Regions from separate parts of the Homo sapiens genome. Here region 2 is linked to region 1. The links are contacts of gene promoters, found by promoter capture Hi-C in human tissues and cell types (Jung and others, 2019). All regions are on one chromosome and are shown on one strand. Each heading gives the region's core, a stretch centred on a gene start or on the middle of the fragment in contact. The rest is flanking DNA. Distances are from core to core; before and after follow the strand shown.

The links. The method cuts DNA at HindIII sites, captures the fragments that hold promoters and counts their contacts. A contact is called where the count stands out against the background at its distance.
Region 2: a fragment that was not itself captured here is called in contact with the fragment with the promoter of FZD1 in region 1 in 1 of the 25 tissues and cell types used here (thymus).

The regions. Positions count from the first base shown.
Region 1 is chr7:91,262,830-91,265,766 of GRCh38, forward strand. FZD1 (frizzled class receptor 1) reads left to right here and starts at 1,604. Exons shown (of 1, transcript NM_003505.2): 1 at 1,604-2,937. The coding sequence starts at 2,052. RefSeq lists an enhancer at 1,389-1,568 and silencers at 1,689-2,198, 2,289-2,348. The HindIII fragment of the contact is 5,225 bases long and covers 1-2,937 here.
Region 2 is chr7:90,690,215-90,693,480 of GRCh38, forward strand. The region is part of intron 2 of CDK14 (cyclin dependent kinase 14); the gene reads left to right. Among named protein-coding and RNA genes, the nearest start is that of CDK14, 96 kb to the left of the region's middle. The HindIII fragment of the contact is 3,260 bases long and covers 1-3,242 here.

The sequences.
Region 1 (2,937 bases), core at 354-2,853:
CGTTTTAGTCTGGATTAAAACCTTTTCTCCTGCCTCCCCTCAAAGTGCCTCAGCTACACTCACCTCTCTGGCCCCCTTCAGCAATTCAAGTGAATTTGAGCTTTAATCTTTTGCACCTTGCACCTACCTCTCCGTCAGAACCCCATTTCATCTGAGCTGGTTGCTTTCTATGTGCCTTTTTGGCTTTGGGATGGACACTGTAACAAGTGATTTGCATTTCTGTGCCTCACTGTACTATGCCCCTCTCTAAGGCTGGCACAGGTCTCCTTCATTTTATACTCTACGACCTAAGAGTGCTTATAGCACAATGGGTGGTTGGTATCTATTAAACAAATGAATGTGTAAATGAATGATAGAAAGTAATTGGTGAAAAGTACGCTGAGATAGAGTCTGATCACAGGCAAAAAAAAAAAAAAAATGGAAGAATTAATAGTCCAATGGCACTTTTCTTATAAAACTGAATTACATAGTCAAACCATCATTTAAAATAATCTTACAAGGAAAACAACATTAATGTGCGTCTGTTGAGACGGATTATGCTGTTTTGGAATTAGGAAGAGAATGTGCAGTTCGCTGTTTGCTTTCAGACTGTTTGTTTGTTTTGTTTATTAAACTGGCGTCTCCAGCTCTGCAGCCCAGCCTGTGGAACCTAAATGGCCCAGGTCCCAGGAGTTCCCATCGGAGCCGTGGGCGTCCCCAGGGTTTAGAAAGGCTCCCCAGGGGCCCAAGCTGCCGGCGAGTGCAGCTCCCGCCGGCGCCACCTCTGCGGTCTGGAGCGGCGAGGACGATCCCAGAGAGGCGCCCCCACTGCCTCGGTCGTCGGGTTCTTAAGTTTTTCTCTCCAAAAATTTAATGGATAGTTTTCTTTTGCTTCTGTTTCTGACTTGATTAAAGAGGCGGAAAAAAAGGAGTTTGACTCCAAGAAGAATGATAGTAGCAGAAGGCGCATCTGGCTTTACTTTCCAAATTCCATCAAAGTTTGTGTTTTGTTTCATTTGACAGCGATCCCGTGAACGTCTCCTCTGGGGAAATGGCGCGACCAAAGCCCGCCAAGCCCAGCCTGCGAACTGGAGGATTTATTAATGTAATATGTTAAACAAAACCTCGACAGACACAAACTCAAAGGAAACCGTGCGCTCCTTAAGTCAAAGGCATCTGTTCTGGAAGCAGAACCCGGTTTGCTGTTGGTAACCAGCGTTAAGAGCAGGATTTTTAAACATGATAATGGATAAAATAAAAGAAAAGCGAAGTCCCGCGGTCCTCTGACTCCTATTCATTATCTCCAGCAGCATATGGGACCATTCTCCTACGTATCCTCGCCTTTTTCTTCTGAAAAAGCAAAAGCAACCAAGCCTGTCCCGCTTCAGAGCAATCCTACTCTTTGTGCCTGAGTAGTGCCACCACCACTACTTCCTCCTCCTCCCGCCTCCTCCTACCCCGCCCTCCTGCCGCTGGCTTTCGCTCTGGCGAGGAGGCGGCCGGCTCCCTTTGCGCCGGGAAGCCGGAGCCGCGATTGGGCGACGGTCCCTGAGCCTCCAGTTCTGCGTCGGTTTCAAGGCTCCTCCCTCCTGGTGAAAGACAGACTACGGGGCGCCTGGAAACCGGTCCGAGGGCGCGCGAGGCAGAGGAGAGGGAGCGAGTTGAGGGATTGACACAAATGGTCAGGCGGCGGCGGCGGAGAAGGAGGCGGAGGCGCAGGGGGGAGCCGAGCCCGCTGGGCTGCGGAGAGTTGCGCTCTCTACGGGGCCGCGGCCACTAGCGCGGCGCCGCCAGCCGGGAGCCAGCGAGCCGAGGGCCAGGAAGGCGGGACACGACCCCGGCGCGCCCTAGCCACCCGGGTTCTCCCCGCCGCCCGCGCTTCATGAATCGCAAGTTTCCGCGGCGGCGGCGGCTGCGGTACGCAGAACAGGAGCCGGGGGAGCGGGCCGAAAGCGGCTTGGGCTCGACGGAGGGCACCCGCGCAGAGGTCTCCCTGGCCGCAGGGGGAGCCGCCGCCGGCCGTGCCCCTGGCAGCCCCAGCGGAGCGGCGCCAAGAGAGGAGCCGAGAAAGTATGGCTGAGGAGGAGGCGCCTAAGAAGTCCCGGGCCGCCGGCGGTGGCGCGAGCTGGGAACTTTGTGCCGGGGCGCTCTCGGCCCGGCTGGCGGAGGAGGGCAGCGGGGACGCCGGTGGCCGCCGCCGCCCGCCAGTTGACCCCCGGCGATTGGCGCGCCAGCTGCTGCTGCTGCTTTGGCTGCTGGAGGCTCCGCTGCTGCTGGGGGTCCGGGCCCAGGCGGCGGGCCAGGGGCCAGGCCAGGGGCCCGGGCCGGGGCAGCAACCGCCGCCGCCGCCTCAGCAGCAACAGAGCGGGCAGCAGTACAACGGCGAGCGGGGCATCTCCGTCCCGGACCACGGCTATTGCCAGCCCATCTCCATCCCGCTGTGCACGGACATCGCGTACAACCAGACCATCATGCCCAACCTGCTGGGCCACACGAACCAGGAGGACGCGGGCCTGGAGGTGCACCAGTTCTACCCTCTAGTGAAAGTGCAGTGTTCCGCTGAGCTCAAGTTCTTCCTGTGCTCCATGTACGCGCCCGTGTGCACCGTGCTAGAGCAGGCGCTGCCGCCCTGCCGCTCCCTGTGCGAGCGCGCGCGCCAGGGCTGCGAGGCGCTCATGAACAAGTTCGGCTTCCAGTGGCCAGACACGCTCAAGTGTGAGAAGTTCCCGGTGCACGGCGCCGGCGAGCTGTGCGTGGGCCAGAACACGTCCGACAAGGGCACCCCGACGCCCTCGCTGCTTCCAGAGTTCTGGACCAGCAACCCTCAGCACGGCGGCGGAGGGCACCGTGGCGGCTTCCCGGGGGGCGCCGGCGCGTCGGAGCGAGGCAAGTTCTCCTGCCCGCGCGCCCTCAAGGTGCCCTCCTACCTCAACTACCACTTCCTGGGGGAGAAGGACT
Region 2 (3,266 bases), core at 363-2,862, 570 kb before region 1:
GCTCTGAAAGGTATATTAGGTAAGTTTGCTTGATGTTTGCTGTCTTAGAAGAGGCAGGTTGTGTGACACTTAAGTGTGTGGGTTCTGGGGCCAGGCTGCCTATATTTGAATTGTAGCTTTACTAGGATTCCATTTGGTGGCCTTTTTAGTGCCCCAGGTTTCACATCTGTAAAATGGGATTAAAAATAGTACCTGCCTTCCTCAAGGGATTCTTGTACAGTTTAAATATGGCAATACCTGTAAAATACTTAGAAATACCCATTATTATGGTCAATATTTTACTATTAACTTCTTTCACTATGTCTGTGTACTTTTTGTTTATAAAGTATTATTAAATAAAATACCACAACTTAATTTATTTCATCTTAGCAGGAAGTTTCTTTAGAAGCACGAAAGATTGTGTTTATAACAGTATTCAGTATAATAGTGTGGTTTCTCTCATATTGAGCCAGATGGCGTTCTCTAGCTACAGAATGAGGAACCCTTTAGCTGTGTGTCATTTTATGAGCCGCAACATACATTAATTTAAAATAAAATTATTATGAATTTAAAAATTGATATATAGCAAATGTAGAGAATTTTCCCCATGGTTGTAATAAAATAATTTTTGTATCATGATATGTAAGAGCAAAAGAATAAGAATGAAAACAATTATACTTCTAAGCATTCATTTTGACAAAGATTACTTTAGAAAGTAAGCAAATTAAAGTAAAACAGAATAAACAATGATAAGTTTAATTAGAAATGTGACCACCATTCCCTTGGTGCTCAGTTCAGACTTAAGTCCTCTATTTATTTTGTATTGTGATTTTCTATTTTATTCTTACTCATAGTAATAATTACTTGAAAATATTTTATAAAAACATTAACATATACTCCCTGTTTGGTCACACAATTTGGTGTTTTATGGAGAGAAATAATTTTATTCACAAATATTTATTGAACATCTAGTGTGTGTTTATCTCAGTTGTGGACCATGAGGGTACAACTGTGGACAAAACAGTCCTGCCCTCCCGGAACTTAGCCGTGAAGGGAGGCAGATAATAAAGACACAGGTAAAATTTGTTTGTATGAGGGTGGTAAGTACTGTGGAAAAAAAATAAAGAGAAGGGGGGTATAGGAAAGTTTGTCATTTTAAATAGGATGGTCAGGGAAGACTTCACAGAAAAGATGACTTGTAGGCATAGACTTGGAGGCCATGAAGAAGTGACCCATGAGGCTGCACAGGAGAATGGTGTTTCAGGCAGAGAGAATGGCAAGGAGGCTGTTGTGGATGGAGAATAGTAAGGGGAGAGTAGTAGGAATTTTTCAGAAACACGAGCTACATTGCACAGGGCCTTGTAGGCTGCTGTAAAATTGGCCTTTATTCTGAATGAGATGGGAAACCATTGGAAGTTTTCAGGCAGAGTGAAGTGACGTTGCTTCCATTTCAAAAAGATGACTTTTTCAGCTATTCTGAGAAGAAGACAGTAGGGAGTAGCAGGAAACCAGTGAGAGGCACCTACAATAATCTGCAAGATGATGGTACATCACCACCATCCAACTACGGTGGCTGCACTGGAGACATTGAGAAATGGTTGGATTTTTAATTCATTTTGAAGGTAGAGCCAGAAGTATTTGCTAACAGATTGGATATCAAATTAGAGTTATCAAGGCATTGAGTCTGAATAATTTGGAGGATGTAATTACCATAAGTGAGGTTTGGGAGTGCTGTGAAGGAGTTGATTTCATAATTGTTGTGGGGCAGGAGATAAGCAGTTTTATTTCAGATGAGTGAGTTTGAGAGGAAAGGTGCATTTTCTACATACATAAGTTGTCCTATTCCAAGTGTGTGCTATACTTAAAGGTATAAAAAATAAAGGAAAATGAAATATGGTGTGCTCCAATCTGCGAAATACATATGTTTTGCATCTGTAATTGTTTTAAAGATACATTTGATTGCAAATATTTGACAACCAGTATTTCTAGCTTTTCTTCTTATATCGTTGGTCCATCGAATGCTTCTTTTTCTGTAAGACAAGAGCGTATTTTTTGTGTGTTATATTGGTTTGGTTTTCAGACAGATATACCCAGATATTCCATTACATTTCTATATTCCAAGGACTTATTTTTCAAGTATTATCAACTTTGGATGGCTGTGTGTTTATTTCAAAATGATATCACAGTTGCCCAAATATTTTTGAAATTCTGTTTTTGTGTTAATTAAAGAATTAGCTTATAAGCCACTCTGGAAAATCAGTCTTGTAGGAGTTTTTAATTTTTATATATTGACTTCTATACAACCTTTGCTTTGACATACTGTACACCGATATCCCTTAAGAGCCAAAAACCATTTACATGCCACGTTTGTTTTTTCAGCTGTCAGCAGACTAATGATATGGACTAAGAAGAATGCATGAGGGCTCTGCCTGGTGGAGACTATGCTGGCGGGCCATGATGGGGTCTTCCTGTTCTCTGCTTCCTGCCCCAGGACTAGGGGAGGAATAAATTATATATATAATTTATTTCCAAAGGATACTTTTAAAGTAAATGACACATATTGTTATATTTGCTAAAATGGGCTATTGTGGTTGGGTGTGGTGGTTCATGCCTGTAATCCCAGCACTTTGGGAGGCTGGGGCAGGTGACTTCCACTTTTCATTATATTTTGCATAGAAGTTACTGCATTGGTCTGATGAGAAAGAAAAACTGCTTTAAATTCAGGCCATTTCTTCCATCAAGTAAAAAAAAAAAAAATTCTCCCTGGAGTAAAGCTTTTTGCCAGTAGGGTTCTGTAGCTTGTGGGATGTACTAGGAAAAGGTGCACAAAAATGTGAAGCACATGAATGAAAGAATCCGTCTTTTAGCCTGTGTGTGAAAAGCCTGGTTTCTTTTTCATACTGTTATAGGAAGTATTTCAGATTTTATACATATTTGCTTTTTTCCATTTTGAAGTGGTTGCTCTGTGTATTCTTCCCAAAGGTATTTAAAATGAGAATACTTCTGTGGAATGTAAATATTAAGATTGATGTCTAAAGGTCATTTTTAAAATTTAAAACATCTGCTCTCCTTCATACTTAAATATTTATTGAACAGAAGTTGTATAAGCTGATGATGAGTCTTGATCTGGAATAGACCCTAGTCTGTGATACCAACACAGATTTGAATGAAGCTTGCCAAGGTTAGCACCTACTAGGTAAGTTCTACCAGCTGGGGGTAGACATCATCAGAGGTTTCCTCATTTTTCCATACCTTGTGTCTTTATAATGAATAGCTTATGCAGGCAT